Regions from separate parts of the Homo sapiens genome. Here regions 1, 3 and 4 are each linked to region 2. The links are contacts of gene promoters, found by promoter capture Hi-C in blood cells and fetal thymus (Javierre and others, 2016). All regions are on one chromosome and are shown on one strand. Each heading gives the region's core, a stretch centred on a gene start or on the middle of the fragment in contact. The rest is flanking DNA. Distances are from core to core; before and after follow the strand shown. Region 1 holds the start of LOC105370923 (a long non-coding RNA gene). Region 2 holds the start of TMC3 (transmembrane channel like 3). Region 3 overlaps EFL1 (elongation factor like GTPase 1). Region 4 overlaps LOC105370922 (a long non-coding RNA gene).

Region 1 (4,024 bases), core at 359-2,858, 660 kb before region 2:
GTTCATGATCTCATGGGGTGGGAAGAGCTTATCAACGATAAATACAAGCATTTACATTGGTGTGGCTGGGAACTGGCCTTTGAACAGAGCAGGCCTTAAGGAAAGTGACATTTTAGGAAGATGAAGTTGCAGGTGGTAGGCAGGACTGATTTCTTGCAAAAGAGATCAGTGACCCAAGATTGAGGTGGTAAGGGCACCAGGCCAGGGAGACAGCAATTGGAGTGGGGATGAAATAGCATGCTTCATGGCCTCACAGAATCTTGGAGAAAGAAGGAAGCTTAAATGTCATCCAGTTCAAACAGCACCTCTATCAATGCGCAGATCGCTTCCTCAATCTACTATTTTCTTGAAGAATTTTGGGGCCACGAAAGTCATCACTCGTGTGCCTTGGTCTACCTATGAGAGAGCTCATCTTTGTCAGGAGTGAAAAGCCAAAACTTTGCCCAGCGACTTTCATTTTTATAGATCAGGTCAAATTTCTATTCTTTTCTTTTCTTTTTTTTTTTTTTAACCTGACAACCCTTTAGAGATTTGAGGTCACCAACCATGAAATGCTGAATCTTCTTGTTTCTATGCTACCCAGCTCCAGGGCTGTGGTTTTTACATGATTGTTTCCGGCCAATGAATACACAATTGGATGATCTGAAAATTTTCGTTGTGAGTTTATAGACATATTGACACTGTTTATTTAGTCTTTTTTTGAAATTAAGTTTAGAAAGCCTACAACATATAAGGTTAAACATTTGTTATCTCCTTTGAACATACGATGGCCAATAGTGTTTTTTTTTTTAGAAATCTTGTTTCTGAGTATTTATTTACACAATCAAAGTTTGAAGACTTTAAAGAAGGATAGATTTGTGGCTTCTGAAAATGAGCTTAGAATTTTTATGAAGTGTAACTTGACTGTGGAAGTCAGAGAAGGAGCCACAGTGACCTTTGGGAGGCAGTGCAAATGGAGCAGCAAAGATGGACAAAGGACATTGAGAAATGAGGAGAATCATTGGAATTAGGAAGAAAAACTGAACATTTAGATGTGCAAGATGCAAAATAATCAGCAGTAGTTATGAGGAAGGGCATAAAATAGGACATGTGCTTCAGCTGTGAGCACTGAAATACAAGATATTGGGAACAGGGGTTAAAACACATGAGACAAATACTCTAAAAGCTGCATGATGGAGAAGCTTCATTTCAATATCTGTCCAAAATGCTTTCTCTATTGTAAAAAGCGCTCACACGATTTGCACACAGCCAAAACCTGCAAAGAACATATGCAATTCCACGCTAAGCAGTATGAACACATATTGGGGACATATCTGATCCTCAGACTCACTAAGAGTTTTCTCTGAGAATAAAAAAGGATTGCTAATCGTATTTAAATGACATGTAAGAATGAATAAATAAATGTATTATTATTTTAAAAATAACTATTAGGATTTTCTTAGCAGTGTATCTTGCACTGGATCCAGCCAGCATTAAGTAAGTATCAAAGACCAACAGTTGTTAGGATGCTTTTAAGATCCATTTATTAGTAGTAGTATTTTAAATCCCTTTGTATGAGCACATACATCAATATGTTATTGTCATAAAAGTTTCATCTCCATAGCTCAGTATCTATTAATACCATTTAGGGCCAAGTGCCAGTCAGATTCTAGGAATTCCACTCCAAAGAAGAAATCAAAATGAATGAAAACCTCCAATCTATATTTCCCATTTAGGAAGAAAAACTTTCTTGAATTTCACTTGAAAATTTATGAGAAGTTTGGGACTGAGTAAATGGTGGAAGGAGTGGAATTTTGAATTTACTGCCTAAATATCTTGCCCTCTGCTTAGTAAGGTTGGGGCTGCCAAGTAGCTCACTATAAGAGAGTGAATAATCCAGGTTCTTGGTGGAACTAGGCCATATATTAAATTTGGAAACTAGTCCAATGAAGTCCCTTCCAGGGCAACTCAATTAATCCTTCCTTAATGATCAGAACATTGAAACTTTTGCATGCAGACCAATCTCCAAAATGAATCAATTAAACTCAGAAGCTTCTCACAACAGCAAAGTAGGCAGGATTTAGAGCACAGGACAGTACAAAAGCAAAACCACATCATTGTGTGGTGCTATCTTACTGCGTCAAGACCTAGCTAGGACTCTATGGCCACAGGCAGTCTGTACACAAGTTGAAGCAATTAAGGAAGGCATGGGCTCCCTGTGCGAGAGGGAGGAACTCAACCCCTGCCCCTTGCTAAGAACTCTGAGGCAAAGTGCAGAGAATCTCTCCAGCTATTCAGTGTTCTTAATGGCTCATTAAGCTTAGATTTACTGGCTGTCCTTACAAGTCCACTGGACAGTTGTCTAGTCACTGAGATTTTTCCAAATGTTGAATTATATCTGATGATTGTTGAAGTCACATTTAGGGTGGGTGTGGGATTGGTGGCAGAGCTGGGAGACTGCCTAGCTGTATCATACAGAGATATATCCAGTTTCAAAGAACAGAACACCCTCCTGTATTCATTTGGTAGGGGGGCCAAGTACCACAAACTGAGTGGCTTAAACAACAGAAATTTATCGTCTCTCAGTTCTAGAGGCAAGAAGTCTGAGATCAAGGTGTCAGCAGGGCTGGTTTCCTCTGAGGGCTGTGCGGGAAGGATCTGTTCCAGGCCTCTCTGACTTGTATGTGGCTGCCTTCTCCCGCCTTCACTTTGTCTTCTTTGTGTATGTATATCCCCAGATTTCCACTTCTTATAAGGACATCAGTCCTATCGAATTAGGACCCACCCCTCATGACCTCATTTTAACTGGACTATCTTTGTAAAAAGATCCTATCTTCAAATAAGATCGCATTCTGAGATACTGGGGTTTATGACTCCAGCATATCTTTTTTCAGTTTAAGATTCATTTATTATTAGTAGTATTTCAAATCCCTTTGCAGGAGCACATACATCAATGTGTTATTGTCATAAAAGTTTCATTTCAATAGCTCAGTATCTATTAATACTATTTAGGGCCAAGTGCCAGCCAGATTCGAAGCAATTCCACTCCATAGAAGAGATCAAATGAATGAAAACCTCCTATAGTGGCTGAAGCAGGGTTTGACTGGCCTTACACACAGGCAGCCCCAAAGTAAGCAGATCAGGGCTGGTCTGGTTTCTCAGAGACACAACCAGGATCCACAGCTCTTTACATCTTTCTGCTCTGTCATTTGTTAAATGCCTCAGGGTCAAAGGATGGCTGCCACAACCCCAGACCTCTTGTCTATAGTCCAAGCATGAAGAAGGAGGGAAAAGTTTAGTGAAATGACAAGGATGGCCAGTAAAGAGGCACTTTGCTGGTGAGCTTCTGCCTTTTCATTCAGAGACTATCTCTCATTGGCCAGAACTGTTCATATGGTTGGAAAATCAAACATTTATAGTTAAGCAATGTCATCCTGAACAAAGTCTGTGTTATTTCTGTAAAGATAAAAGGTAAAGAGGGATAAATATTGGATAAGTAGCAGTAATACTTCCGAAGCTAAGACTGGAAGGGCTGGGAATTTGCCAAAGTAAGGGTCAAGGCTGAAGTCACCAGCCAGGTAGTTTAATAGGATCTGTGAGTGGGGCAAGGGCCAGTCTAGGGAAGGGAATGAGACCTGAAACCTAGAGAGAGGTTGGACAGCTGTCTCTTACAAGATGGAGGGGCCCAATACAGGCAGACTTGTCACTCTGTGGCCCTGTGGTCTCCTCCAGGAACAGTGCCATTTCCAAGGCTTAGCTTTGACCTCTGTTGCTAGTAGACTGGACATTCAGAGGTGACAGTGGCTACACTGGTCACAGTCAGTGGGAATGCATGCTGTTGGGCCTATGCATAGCTTCCATCTCTCCATTTATGTGCCCATCATACCACTTCTGGGGTGGCCAATGACAGGCTTGCCTCCTCTCCCATAGAACATTACACTGATACAGCCGGGCGCAGTGGCTTATGCCTGTAATCCCAGCACTTTGGGAGGACAAGGCGGGTGGATCATCTGAGGTCAGGAGTTTGAGACCAGCCTGGCCAACA
Region 2 (4,069 bases), core at 446-2,945:
TTTGAGTAAATATTTCAAAATAAGGCAGGGGGGCTTTAGAAAAAGTAGGACGAAAAAAATCTTTGAAATGTTCAGGAATGATTGAGATAAGTAAAGATCTCTGAAAGAATGCAAAAAATCCCAGTGGGGCTAGCAGTAATTCTATTGTATAAGCCATTTGTCCATTTGATAAGCACACATTTTATCTAATGTTACCAGATAGAGCATCAGGCCAAATGGCCTCAAGCAAATTGGCAGACAGATGACCTGGTCCCAGAGGCTCCGGATCCATCTCTGACCCAAGGCCAGCTCTGGCACTCAGCCTTCCACTTCGTTCCCATGCTTTCAGCGCTAGGTCTGAACACTTGCCTGATGGTCCTGAACCCCTGGGCTAGGGCTCTTGCTTACATTTGCCAGTTCAGTGTGTGGTAAGATCTTTCCAATTATTTGCTAATGAATTAGTGGAGGATTGAATGGACAAATGAATGAAGTTTCTCTCCGAAGCCCCACATCTGAACTTGCTGATGGATTTTCTTTCTGCTCCGTTGTCTGGTGTCCACTTCAGTTATTTATTCACCCATTTATTGAGTCTTTAGTGTGCAGTGGGTAATGTTCAATAGAAAGAGTCATGTCTACTCCAGTCCTGCACCTTCCCATTCTGTTACTACAAAGGTGCAATTTACCTCACTGCAGTCAAACCATTTCTTGTGTTAAGTAGCAAATAGAGGTTTACACTGTGAAACCAGGCAAGTCTTGGACTTGGGAATGAGGTTCTTGGAACAGAATCCCAATGCATGGCTAACAGTGAGAGTCTGCAGGTGACAAAGGAACCGGGCTCCATTCTGCTGATGGCTGGGGAAGGGGAGGAGAAGCTGCTGACCTTTGCTGAAGGACTAGGATGAACTACTCATCCCATTTTACAGCAGGCAACCTATTTTCAGAACATTGAGGTGAGAGTCTAATCTCTATCAAAGTCTTCCTTTCTTACCAAATGCTATAGGAAGTCTCTTTATTTCTTTTAGCCTCAGTCTCAGAGTCATAGTGCTCATTAATGTGACCATGTATGGTAAAGGTAAAATGTAATAAGATGTTAATTTGATTATTATTAATATCATGCTGAAGTACTTGGGGTTGATGTATCATTATTTCTGCAATCTACTTTCAAATGGTGTGTGGTGGGGGAAGGATACAGACAGAAATAAAGCAATTGTGGCAAAATGTGGCAATTGGTAAATCTAGGTTAAGAGTGTACAGATATTCCTGGTACTGTTCCATCAGCATTTCTAAGGATTTGACTTTTTTCAAAATAGAAACTAAGTTGAGAAAAAACTAAATAAGAAAAAATAAAATGTGATGGCTGTGCCTCTCCTCAACTCCACTGTATGAACACAAGCAAGGTCCTTACTGTCTCTAAGCCTCTTCGTTGAGAGTAAAAAACTGGGGAAATTAAGCCTTGCCTTTTATACTCCCTCAGTGTTTTGTGAACACCAGTCATGGTCACAGATGTAAAGTGTTTTGCAAACCATCCAGGACTGTCAGGGCATAAGGGGTTAACGGATGTGATCATTTGTACAGCACCAAGCGATGTGTAGATCACCGGGCCAAACCCTTGGCTGTCTAGACTCCAGCCAATCTGTGTGCCTCAGCCACCTTAACATTACATATGCATGACTGGCCTCCTGGATTCTTCCCTGCTCAGAGCACCAGCTGCAAGCACACAGTCTTCTTCCTGAGAACTAGCGGGCAGAGCAAACTCCGCTGCTTCCATTCAGAAACCTCGGAACAGACCTTTGCCTGCCAACTTCCTAGCTCTCTGGCCAGCTTCTGATTGTTAGCAGTGGGTTAGCTCCCATGAAAACCTCGAAGGCATCCCAGCGCTATAGAGGCATCCGGAGAAATGCCAGCCAGTGCTACCTCTACCAGGAATCTCTGCTGCTCAGGTGAGCTGGCCCCATTCATCAGCTGGGCAGAGGAGTCAGGTGTGTGAGGAAGGAATGCATGGGTCACCAGAGCGAGGGACAAAGTCCCTGTCCTGCTCAGTTGTCCTTCAGAATGAACTCAGAAACTCACTTCTCCAGGTTGTGGTACAACTAGGATGGCAACCTCAGCAACGGGCATGGGGGGAAATGGTTCTTCTGGCTGCTTCTTGACCAGGAGGTCAGAATCCAAAAGCTTGCATCCCAACCTGGCTTTATGGCTGGCCAAACCCACAGATATGTTTCCCTGTTTTCTCTATGTTCACTCAATCAGCAATGTCAAGAGAGAGCAGATAATATGTCTATCATGATAAATAAAGTGTTTATTGGAAAAGCCTTCAGGCTAGTTAGAAGTGGATGAGAGTGCTATTCGAATTTGTTAAATATTTATAAAGGTCTAGTACAGCTGCCATTTAATTTGGTGAAATTGAAAAAAATTCTCCTCTAAATGAGTAAAAACAACATGAATTAGAGAATAACAAACGAAATCTTTTATTTCTAATAGTCATAGATGAATACTCTTAACTCCTCTCAAAATGTTGCATTAGGATAAGCATATTAAGTGTAACTGGGAGTAAATGTTGCTACATGTTGGAAAATTGTTCCTCTTGAGAGTATCTATTTCCTGAAATATCTCACCCATGTAAATTTGCTTAGCTAATCTTTCGCTCGTAGAAATTGCTTTGCCTGGCTCTGCCTCGGTTATCTCAGGCTTAAAATGAATTGACGTGAAAGGGTGAAGAGGGGTTTCTGAGTGGCAGAAGTTTTGATTTATGTTACCTTCAAGTAACATAAGGAGTCCTGCCTCTAAAATTAGCTGATTATTTCAATGAGCCTGAAAAAGAAATTATTTTGCCTACCCAAATTGCTGCTACTCAGGAATCCAAGAGTACGTAAATACCCTCTTGTCTCATCTTGTGTTTTCTGATAATATCATGCACCCTGAGAAATCATTATCTTCTAATGACCCAGTGGAAGTAATTGAATCCAATAAATGTGTTTCAACAGGCTACTGACACTGGCAAATTATCTGTTTCTGTGGGTCCCTCACTTTACACACACACACACACACACACACACACGCACAAACACATACACATTTCATACAGATGACCCTAGGGCAGTGAGATGCTGAACTTGTGCCCAGGGCAAGATGATCTTTGCTGGAAGCAATTCTTCTAATCAGATTTCCTCCTTAATGCCCTGATCATTCAGCAACTTGGATGACAGCTTTAGTGCTGATGAAACAGGGGACAGCAATGATCCGGAACAAATCTTCCAGAATATACAGTTCCAGAAAGATCTCATGGCAAACATTCGCTGCAGACCCTGGACTATGGGACAGAAGCTGAGGGCATTGAGGTAAGGGCCTCAATGGCCATTATTGATCATTACAAGCATGCTTTCCGATAAACCACCTTGCCTTGCCCATGGGAACGAGGATAAAGACTCATGTGAGAGAGATGGCTCAGTCACTCTTGACCTGAATTAGCAAAGTCACAAAGATATCTGAGAGGTCTAGCTGGTCCAGAAGCCAGTTCCTCTGTGTGTGTGTGTGTGTGTGTGTGTGTGTGTGTGTGTGTGTGTGTGTGTGTGTGTGTGTCAGAGAGACAGATACAGAGAAAGAGAGAGTATAAAGAGTTGTGTGTCTGTGTTGGGGGTGTGTGTGTTGGTGGAGAGTCTTTTATCTTCTACCTCCTTTCTAAACACTAGATTTTAATATTCTCTCCAAGCTCGTCTCGCTCACTAGAAACAGAGCAGTAAGCCAATATGAAAAGAGATACTCATTTTAGCTGCTTGGATATTACCACCCTCTGGGTAAAAAAATAATTAAAAAAAAAAAGACTTTATAGGAAGCCAGATTATTATGATACTTAGAGTCATATTAAATAGTCTGTCTATATAATAAAGTGCTAAAGATTTAAAAATAGATTCCCTGATTCAAATACTGCCTTTACCAATTTCTATCTATGTGATATTAATTTTCTTAATTTCTCTGAATACCAGTTCTTTTCTTTTTTAAAGTTGAAGCGATGGTGAGGAATAGCCCTTAACTTCCTGCAGCACGTTTCCAAAAATGTCAACCACTAAGCTCTCTGGATATTGTTAAAAAT
Region 3 (4,008 bases), core at 906-3,405, 810 kb before region 2:
TTAATGTGAACAGGTTAAGCCAACTAAGTGTTTATATAGTTTCTCAAGCTTAGGTCTTTTTAAAAATAATTGTTGAAAGGGAAGAGGCACATTGTTTTAAAAAATCTGAATGTAGAATCTTTGTTTTAACAAGACCTGGAAAGTAGATAGAGTAGGGTTGTAAGGTAAAAGAAAAGTTAACTTAAAACACATTGAATTTTTAACTTTTCCCCACGAGGAAGCAACGGTTATAACATTGTTCTTGATACAGGTAGAGACAGATAGATTTAGATTTTCTTTAAGGCACTCACTAGTCAGAGAGAGAAATAAGATATGTAATTTCCAATTAAGTGAAGATTTCTAGAAAGGAATGAAGAAAACTTCATTTGGTAAAACAAAACATAACAAAAAAACTAAGAGGAAAAAAGATAAGAAAATGGAAGTAGGCTAGACCCAAGACCAAATATATTACCACAGTAAATGTGAAGGAACTTAACAACTTAATTAAAAGACAATGACGCTTATATTGGGCACTCCAAAAAACTCAAGAGAATCATGCTGTTTGCAGGAACCATGTGAAATAAAGCAGTTCAAAGTTTGAAAATAAAAGATAAAGACAACAATTGTTTAAAGTAAACAATTTTGTAAAGATAAAGATACAAATTTAGTGTTAGGTAGAGGAAATTTCAAGAGGAAAAGCATTCAACAGGACAAAGAGTTATATTTTATTAAAGAAAAATTCAATTGGAACTAAAATTATAATGGTCATAAGTCTTTATGTCCCAAGTAAGGTAGCACTGAAATACAGAGTATCCTAAAAGTCTGGAAACACAGGGCTGTTTTTTTCACTGTTATAGTTATTACCGTGAAATATAGGACAAAATCTCAGTGTATATTGCTCCAAAGAATAATGATAGAATAATATGACTGAGATTAAGTCAAAGTAGATTAAGTAGGTAAAAAAGAGTAAAATATAAAAATTTAACAAATATTCCCTCCTCTAGACATTTTAGATACTGTGCATATAAAGCAAAACATTAAAATAAAAATTAGAATTTACAGAATAGAAATTGTATTAGAAGACTTGGACATGCCTTCCAGAATTTGACATGTAAATTAGGTAGAGGATAAATATGGAAATAGAATATTTAAATAATACAAACAATAAGCTTCGTTTAATAGGTAGATATAAAATTTTGTACTCTAAGTAGAAATTAAATTTAAAAATTGAATTTACTAGGTCACAAGAAAAGTTTTAATAAAATCTCCAAAATATAATGTGCACAAGCTATTATTTTCTGACCAAAATAAACTAAAACTCAAAGTTAATAATAAAAAATTGTTCAAAATAATTCTAATCAGCTAGATATTAAAATACAATCTCCTAAGTCACTCTTAGAGCAAAGTAGAAATTAAATTTGCAGTTACAGAGTAGAGCAATCCTTTGGTTTAAAACATTTGCATTTCACTTTAACCAAACAGCTTAAGGATAAATTACGCCTATTTTACAATATTTGTTTTCGCTATTAGAAAGAAGTGAAACTGAAGCTCCAGGCATATGTCACAATGTTGGCCTCTTTGCTCATTGACAAGTGCCGCCTCTGTAGGAAAGCACTACAGTAGCACTAGTGCTTATCATCCCCTGCAAACTTCCTTTGTAAGATGATGTATAATAAAGAACATTTTTTCAATTACTCTTTAAAATGGATAAAAATAGCTTCTGTAAGAAGGTATAACAAAATATCCAAAGGGCATGGTAATGTCTACTCAGAGTTCAAGGAAATGACAAACAACATACCTCTAGAAATTAGTCTAAAATCACTACAGGCTGAGGTTCCAGTGAGGGAGTGCTCAAAAGGCTACCTAAGAAGCGCCTGAATTATTGAGGCGCTGAGATGTCAGTTCCAGGGGACCTGCAATTTAGAGCAAAACAAGCCTCGATCATCAAAGAGGACTCAAGTACTGTGAAGGTTCTAGACTAGAAACAGATACAGGAACAAGACCAACACTGAGTCATGTGGGACTAGAACCTCCAAAAGGGTGGAATAGAACACTCAGGTCTGGAAATGGAAAAGGAAAACTGTCGGCTCATAAGAGCAGATTGCTAAATTTTCAGGAAATTTGTTAACCAGTTGTTAAACTTGGCCATTATTAAAGATTAAATCACATAAATTTATAATCGAGTTAATTATGTTAAAAATAAAGGCAATGAATGCTTAAATGGAGCAAAAAAAAGTGGCTAGCCTTTCTGACAATATCAAAACACAGTGAAACTGGAACACCTGGTATTTGGAAATGATTCAGTTTGTGAGAGAGTGTTTAACTGCCAGAGCATCCATTCTTTTGCCGTTTTCTATGGTTAAGAGATGTGCTTTTTAGGTTGGGCTTTACTAAAGAGCCAGACAATATAGTACTTTAGGCTAGAAGATTTTTGTGTTATGTTAATGGCCTTTCCCCCTTATTGCTTTTTGACCTTACCCCTTGCATATTATAGATATTAATTAAAGATGGAAAGGAGCGTGCCTATATGGATTTAAACACTGACAAAAGTCAGAATTCAACATATCAAAGCCTTTAGATGTGATTCCAAAACTCTGAGTATAAAAAGCTAGCCTTTGCTTTTATTATTTGGTAAGAAAAAAACAAGCAACTATTCATTCCACTGAGGTAATCAGAGAAAGAATGACAAGTCCCCCCTTACAAAAAAAAAGAAGATACTAGTAAAGAAAAAAGCAAAAATTAAATTTTATACAACAAAATTCCCTAGAATTGATAAGTAAATAGCAGATGTATTTAAAAAGATGAGTACAATAGTTAAATGTCTCACTGAGGAAAGGGGAAAACAAGCAAGTTAGGAATGAGTGGGAATGAAGTAATAAACATAGAGATTTTAAATTTTAAGAAAATACTGTATACTTTTCAAGGCTAATTAATTTCCATATGCAAATACGCCCCTTGATTTTCTAGGGAAAAAATGTTACAAAACTGTTTCAACAGTAGAGTCCTGAATATGTCAGTAACTAAAGGTATCGAGTTTTAGTTTAAATTTGCTTTTACTATTAAAGAGGTTGAACACTACCTTATATGTAAGTTGGCCACTTGTATTTTTTTTAATTGTCTGTATTCTTTGGCTGTGTTTTTAAATTGTGGTATTCATTTTCTGATTTATTGGTAAAAGCTTTTTATAGGAAGCTATTCATCTGTGTTCTGATAATTCTCTTCCATTTTTGACTTGCTTTTTAACTTTGTTTATTTGATTTTTTGCCATAAAAGTAAAAATTTATGGGAAAAGTTCTAATTTTTTAAAATTTTTTTCTGAATGTCTTTAAAGTATTTACAAGTTGGATTTTTTGTTTTTGGGTTTTTGGCTTTTTTCTTTTTTACTTTTTCATTTATGAAGATATGCATTTTAATTTTATTTAATAGTCACACATATGTGTCACTTTTTAATCCATCTAGATTTTTATCTTGGTTTATGGTATGGAGTAGAGATACAATTTTAACTTTAATTTGTTAGTTTTGAAAGTAGGTGACCCAGTGTTTTCACTCCGTGAATTGAGGAACGCACACACACACACACACACACACACACACACACACACACACACACAGCCACACATGAAACATTCCTAAGGATTTGTATGTCTTCTGAGTTGGGGTAATATGTATGTGTGAGTTCATTTGTAAATAGTCAAAACTTAACTTTGTCTCTAACAGACAAAATCCATTGTAGCAGGGGATATAAAAATAGATTTCTTTCCTTTTCCTTCACTAAAACATTTGCTTCATGTTAGCACAGTCTGGGGAAATGAAGGTCTCCTATTTATTAGCTAAACAATGGACTTACTATTCACACTACTCTAAGTTGTTCTTGTCTCTAAATCCTCAAATAATGAAACTCTACATTTCTTTGTTTTTATGATTGCACATGTTTTCACCATATAGTAGATTGTTTCACTCTATTTCATCCAATAATCCCTTATCTGTCAAATTGTGAGGAATTTGGGAGTTGGAAGTTTCATCTTCTTC
Region 4 (3,709 bases), core at 898-3,397, 610 kb before region 2:
TCCTCAATTGATTTGGAAAAAAAATAGGTCCCTTACCACAGGGAGTCTGAGAAACACTGAAATAGGCTCCATTAAAATTAAGAAATGCTATTCATAAACAGATACTGTAAAGAGTGAAAAGACAAGCTACACAATGGAAGAAAATGTTCGCAACACATATAACTGACAAAGACCTAGTATCTGAAATGTATAAAGAACCCATTCAAGTCAGTTAGAAAAATGGGTTAAAAAACGTAAAGAGGCACTGCATGTAAAAAGAAATTCTAATGTCCTATAAACATATTAAAGGCCTCCACCTCATTAGTCGTCAGGGAAATGAAAAATTAAAACCACAATGAAAATTACACATGCAGTCACCAGACTGGCAAAAATGTAAAAGCTTCACAAGCCTAATGTTGGTAGGAATCCTGAGTTTCAGAAACTTTCAAATATTTATTGCCTGTGGGAATGAAAATGAATTAAACGATTTTGGAAAACCCATTGGTAGTATCTATCAAAGTTGAACATATACGACCCAGCAATTCTTGAGGACCCAACAGAAATGTGTTACATGTGTGAACCAAAGGACATATACAAGGATATTCATGGAAACACTATAATAGCCCCCAATTGAAAACAGCGAAGGTGTCCATCATAATAAAATGAATAAGTTGTTGTATTGTCACATAATGAAACACTTTATAAAAGTTGTTCTTAAAGCATGGACCATGGACCAGAAACATCAGCATCACCTGGGAACTTGTTAGAAATGCAAGTTCTTGAATCTCACTTTGGACCCAGTGAATAAGAACTATAAGAGTGGGGCTCAGAACTCAGAACTTACATTTTAAGAAGCCTTTCAGATAATTCTGATGGACTTTAAAGATTAAGAACAGAATTTCTCTCTGTTTCTGGCTGTAGAATTTTATTTCTACAGAGATAAATATGAATGAATTATAGCTTTTGCCAACAACATGAATGAGTCTCAGAAACATATTCTGTTGTCATAGTGTTTTTTGTGATTTCCCTAAGGTATCCACAGGACATTTCAGAGGACTGACTCTTCTGTAAATTCAGAAATGTCTCCATGCTCTGATGTTTCTCATCCAGAGAGTCAGTCCCACCTTGGGGCCAAAGTATTATGGCAGGAAACAGTAGGGAGAGATATGGGGGTCACTAAAGGGGTCTGCAGTAAAGGGTGCACTTTGGACTCAAGGAAACATTCAGACTCTAAAATGAAGTCCATGGGTGCCAGAACCCCTGGTGGAATGCTTGAACTGGGGCATCCCAGGCCTGGCTGTGATTGAAGAGAATAAATTCTGCTGCTGAAAATTCCCAAGGGTCTGGATGGAGAAGGTCTAGGGAAACTGGATATTCCTAGACTAAGAGATTGGTAGACGCAGAGGTTCTAGAGCATCTGCTTGGCTTGTCCCTGGCTCTGAATTACTGGCATTGTTTCCTGGGTCATTGCTGTTGTTGCTCCTGCCAAGACAATTTGGCCTGAGCCACACCTGTTAGAGAATTTCTACAACTTTGCTTGCTTCTTTTTGCAGTAGACAGTGCATTCTGGTGTTGCCTCAATAAAGGCCATATGAATTCCTGAGGTTCTTGCTCCTCTTGCTTTTATCCCATTTTCTCCAAGTGTTCCTTAAAGTTTAATAATTTTTTAAAAGGATTATGAGGTAGGTGTAAAAGACAAACTGTTCTAAGGTGTAAAAATAATCCCATTAATGCACTATGGCCTGAGTGGCTCATGGCCAAAGAATAGATCATGACTGTAAAACATGTTGCATTGAACTCTTCTAGCTCTATGGATTTCAATACCTTCTATACACTATCGGCTCAAAAATTTACATTCTGAGGACTTCTCCAAGCTATTCTCTAAGCTCCAGATGCATGCTATCTAATTGCCCACATGACACTTTCACTTTATCCTAAATAGATTTTCCTTCCATTGGCTTCTTACCCCATTCACCTTGTAAAGAATGCCCCTCCCCTAGTCTTCTCCATCTCAGGTAATGGCCTAATGGCCCCACCTTTTACCCAAGACCTAAGGCATGGGAGTCCTCCCTGGTTCTTCTGGTTTCCTCATCCCCCATATCCAATCTACTAACACATTTTTTGGTCTTGGAAAATTTATTTTTTTTTTAATAAATTTCTTTTGAAATTTAGTTTTTAGCCAACCACTTCTCTTTCCACTCTTTCTTCCCAAGAACAATCCATAATCACCTCTCCTAAATTTCTGCATACACTCCCTAACAGGTATTTCTCCATTCTTGTCCCCTTTAATCCATTCTGCAGACAGCATCTAGAGTAACTTTTTGAAGTAAGTAACTTAAGATGACCTAATTTCCCTAATTAAAACATGCCATGGCTTCTCATTACACTTAAGATCCAAATTTCCTGACATACCTACAAAGACAGGATCTAGACCCTGCCGACTTTTTTAGCCTTATCTGTTCCTCTTCCTCCAGTTTACCATACTGTAGCCAGGCTGGCCTTCCTGCTCTTTCTGAAACAGGACATACTCATCCTTACCTCAGGGACCTTAACTTTCCTCTTGTTTCCCTCTGGAATGCCTCCCCAGCCAGATGACCACATGCCTCTCTTCTTTTCATTGTTTGTATCTCTGCTCACATGTCATCTCCTCAGAGACATCTTTGACTATTTCATCTAAAATGGTACCTCCCTTCCACCTCTTGCTTCGGTCTTCTTATTATACATTATTTCCTTCACAGCATTCTCTATCTGAACGTTAATCATTATATTATTGAGTGTCTAGCTGAAAGATGATGAAGGTGTTGGCAGGAATATAAAGCAAGGGAGGAAACACATGTAACAGAAAAGTTGGCCGGATCATACTTCTTCAACCAAACATCCCTAAGTCAACCATGAGTCAGGCACTGTACCAGGAGCCAGAATTAGAAAGATGAATTAGACATGGGCTTGATCTCACAAGTCTCAGAGTCTAGTGTGATAAGCAGTATTTTCAAGAAAGGTTGGGAGCACAGGAAGTGGTATGTCTTGTGGGTATGAAGGACAATGAGGAGAGTTTCAAAGTTTTACGGGTAATTATATTTGGAGAAGGAGTTGGAAACTCTGGAATTGAGTTCTAGGTCATGAGCTGGGAGAATGGTGGAACCATCACTCTATGATCAGAAGGAGGGAAGCCTGATCTGTGACAACCTCTGACACCTTCAGAAACTCCCTAGCCAGAATTCGTGGTAGTCAAAAGCCAACAGTGGGCTGGGCGTAGTGGCTCACGCCTGTAATCCCAGCACTTTGGGAGGCCGAAGAGGGCAGATCACAAGATCAGGAGTTCGAGACCAGCCTGGCCAACATGGTGAAACCCAGTCTCTACTAAAAAATACAAAAATTAGCCGGGTATGGTCGTGGGCGCCTGTAATCCCAGCTACTCGGGAGGCTGAGGCAGGAGAATCACTTGATACTGGGAGGCGGAGGTTGCACTGAGCCAAGATTGCGCCACTGCACTCCAGCCTGGGTGACAGAGCGAGACTCCGTCTCAAAAAAAAAAAAAAAAAAAAAACCCAACAATGGTTGTGCTGAGACACAGACAATGATAAGAAACAGGAGCAAGGCATGGTAGCTAACAGGAGAGCTTCTGGTCATGAAGGACTCTGGAAAAGGAGAGAAGCAAACTATCTCCTTGGGAAGGCCTGGATTACTGGGCAATCCTTTTCTGGATCCAAGCCCTCTTGGGTTCTCCGTT

The links. The method cuts DNA at HindIII sites, captures the fragments that hold promoters and counts their contacts. A CHiCAGO score of 5 or more calls a contact.
Region 1: a contact is called between a fragment that was not itself captured here and the fragment with the promoter of TMC3 in region 2, in 1 of 17 cell types (M2 macrophages). The highest score is 5.4, in M2 macrophages.
Region 3: a contact is called between a fragment that was not itself captured here and the fragment with the promoter of TMC3 in region 2, in 2 of 17 cell types (fetal thymus and M0 macrophages). The highest score is 7.6, in fetal thymus.
Region 4: a fragment that was not itself captured here is called in contact with the fragment with the promoter of TMC3 in region 2 in 1 of 17 cell types (endothelial precursors); the score reaches 5.7 in endothelial precursors.

The regions. Positions count from the first base shown.
Region 1 is chr15:82,028,614-82,032,637 of GRCh38, reverse strand. It overlaps LOC105370923 (a long non-coding RNA gene), which reads left to right and starts at 19. Exons shown (of 3, transcript XR_932531.2): 1 at 19-2,701; 2 at 3,205-3,317. The HindIII fragment of the contact is 850 bases long and covers 1,184-2,033 here.
Region 2 is chr15:81,371,839-81,375,907 of GRCh38, reverse strand. It overlaps TMC3 (transmembrane channel like 3), which reads left to right and starts at 1,695. Exons shown (of 22, transcript NM_001080532.3): 1 at 1,695-1,919; 2 at 3,171-3,317. The coding sequence starts at 1,831. All of the region lies in intron 5 of TMC3-AS1 (TMC3 antisense RNA 1), which reads right to left. The HindIII fragment of the contact is 5,020 bases long and covers 1-2,153 here.
Region 3 is chr15:82,184,752-82,188,759 of GRCh38, reverse strand. The region is part of intron 15 of EFL1 (elongation factor like GTPase 1); the gene reads left to right. Among named protein-coding and RNA genes, the nearest start is that of EFL1, 76 kb to the left of the region's middle. The HindIII fragment of the contact is 2,009 bases long and covers 1,151-3,159 here.
Region 4 is chr15:81,986,980-81,990,688 of GRCh38, reverse strand. The region is part of intron 3 of LOC105370922 (a long non-coding RNA gene); the gene reads left to right. Among named protein-coding and RNA genes, the nearest start is that of LINC01418, 22 kb to the right of the region's middle. The HindIII fragment of the contact is 3,532 bases long and covers 382-3,709 here.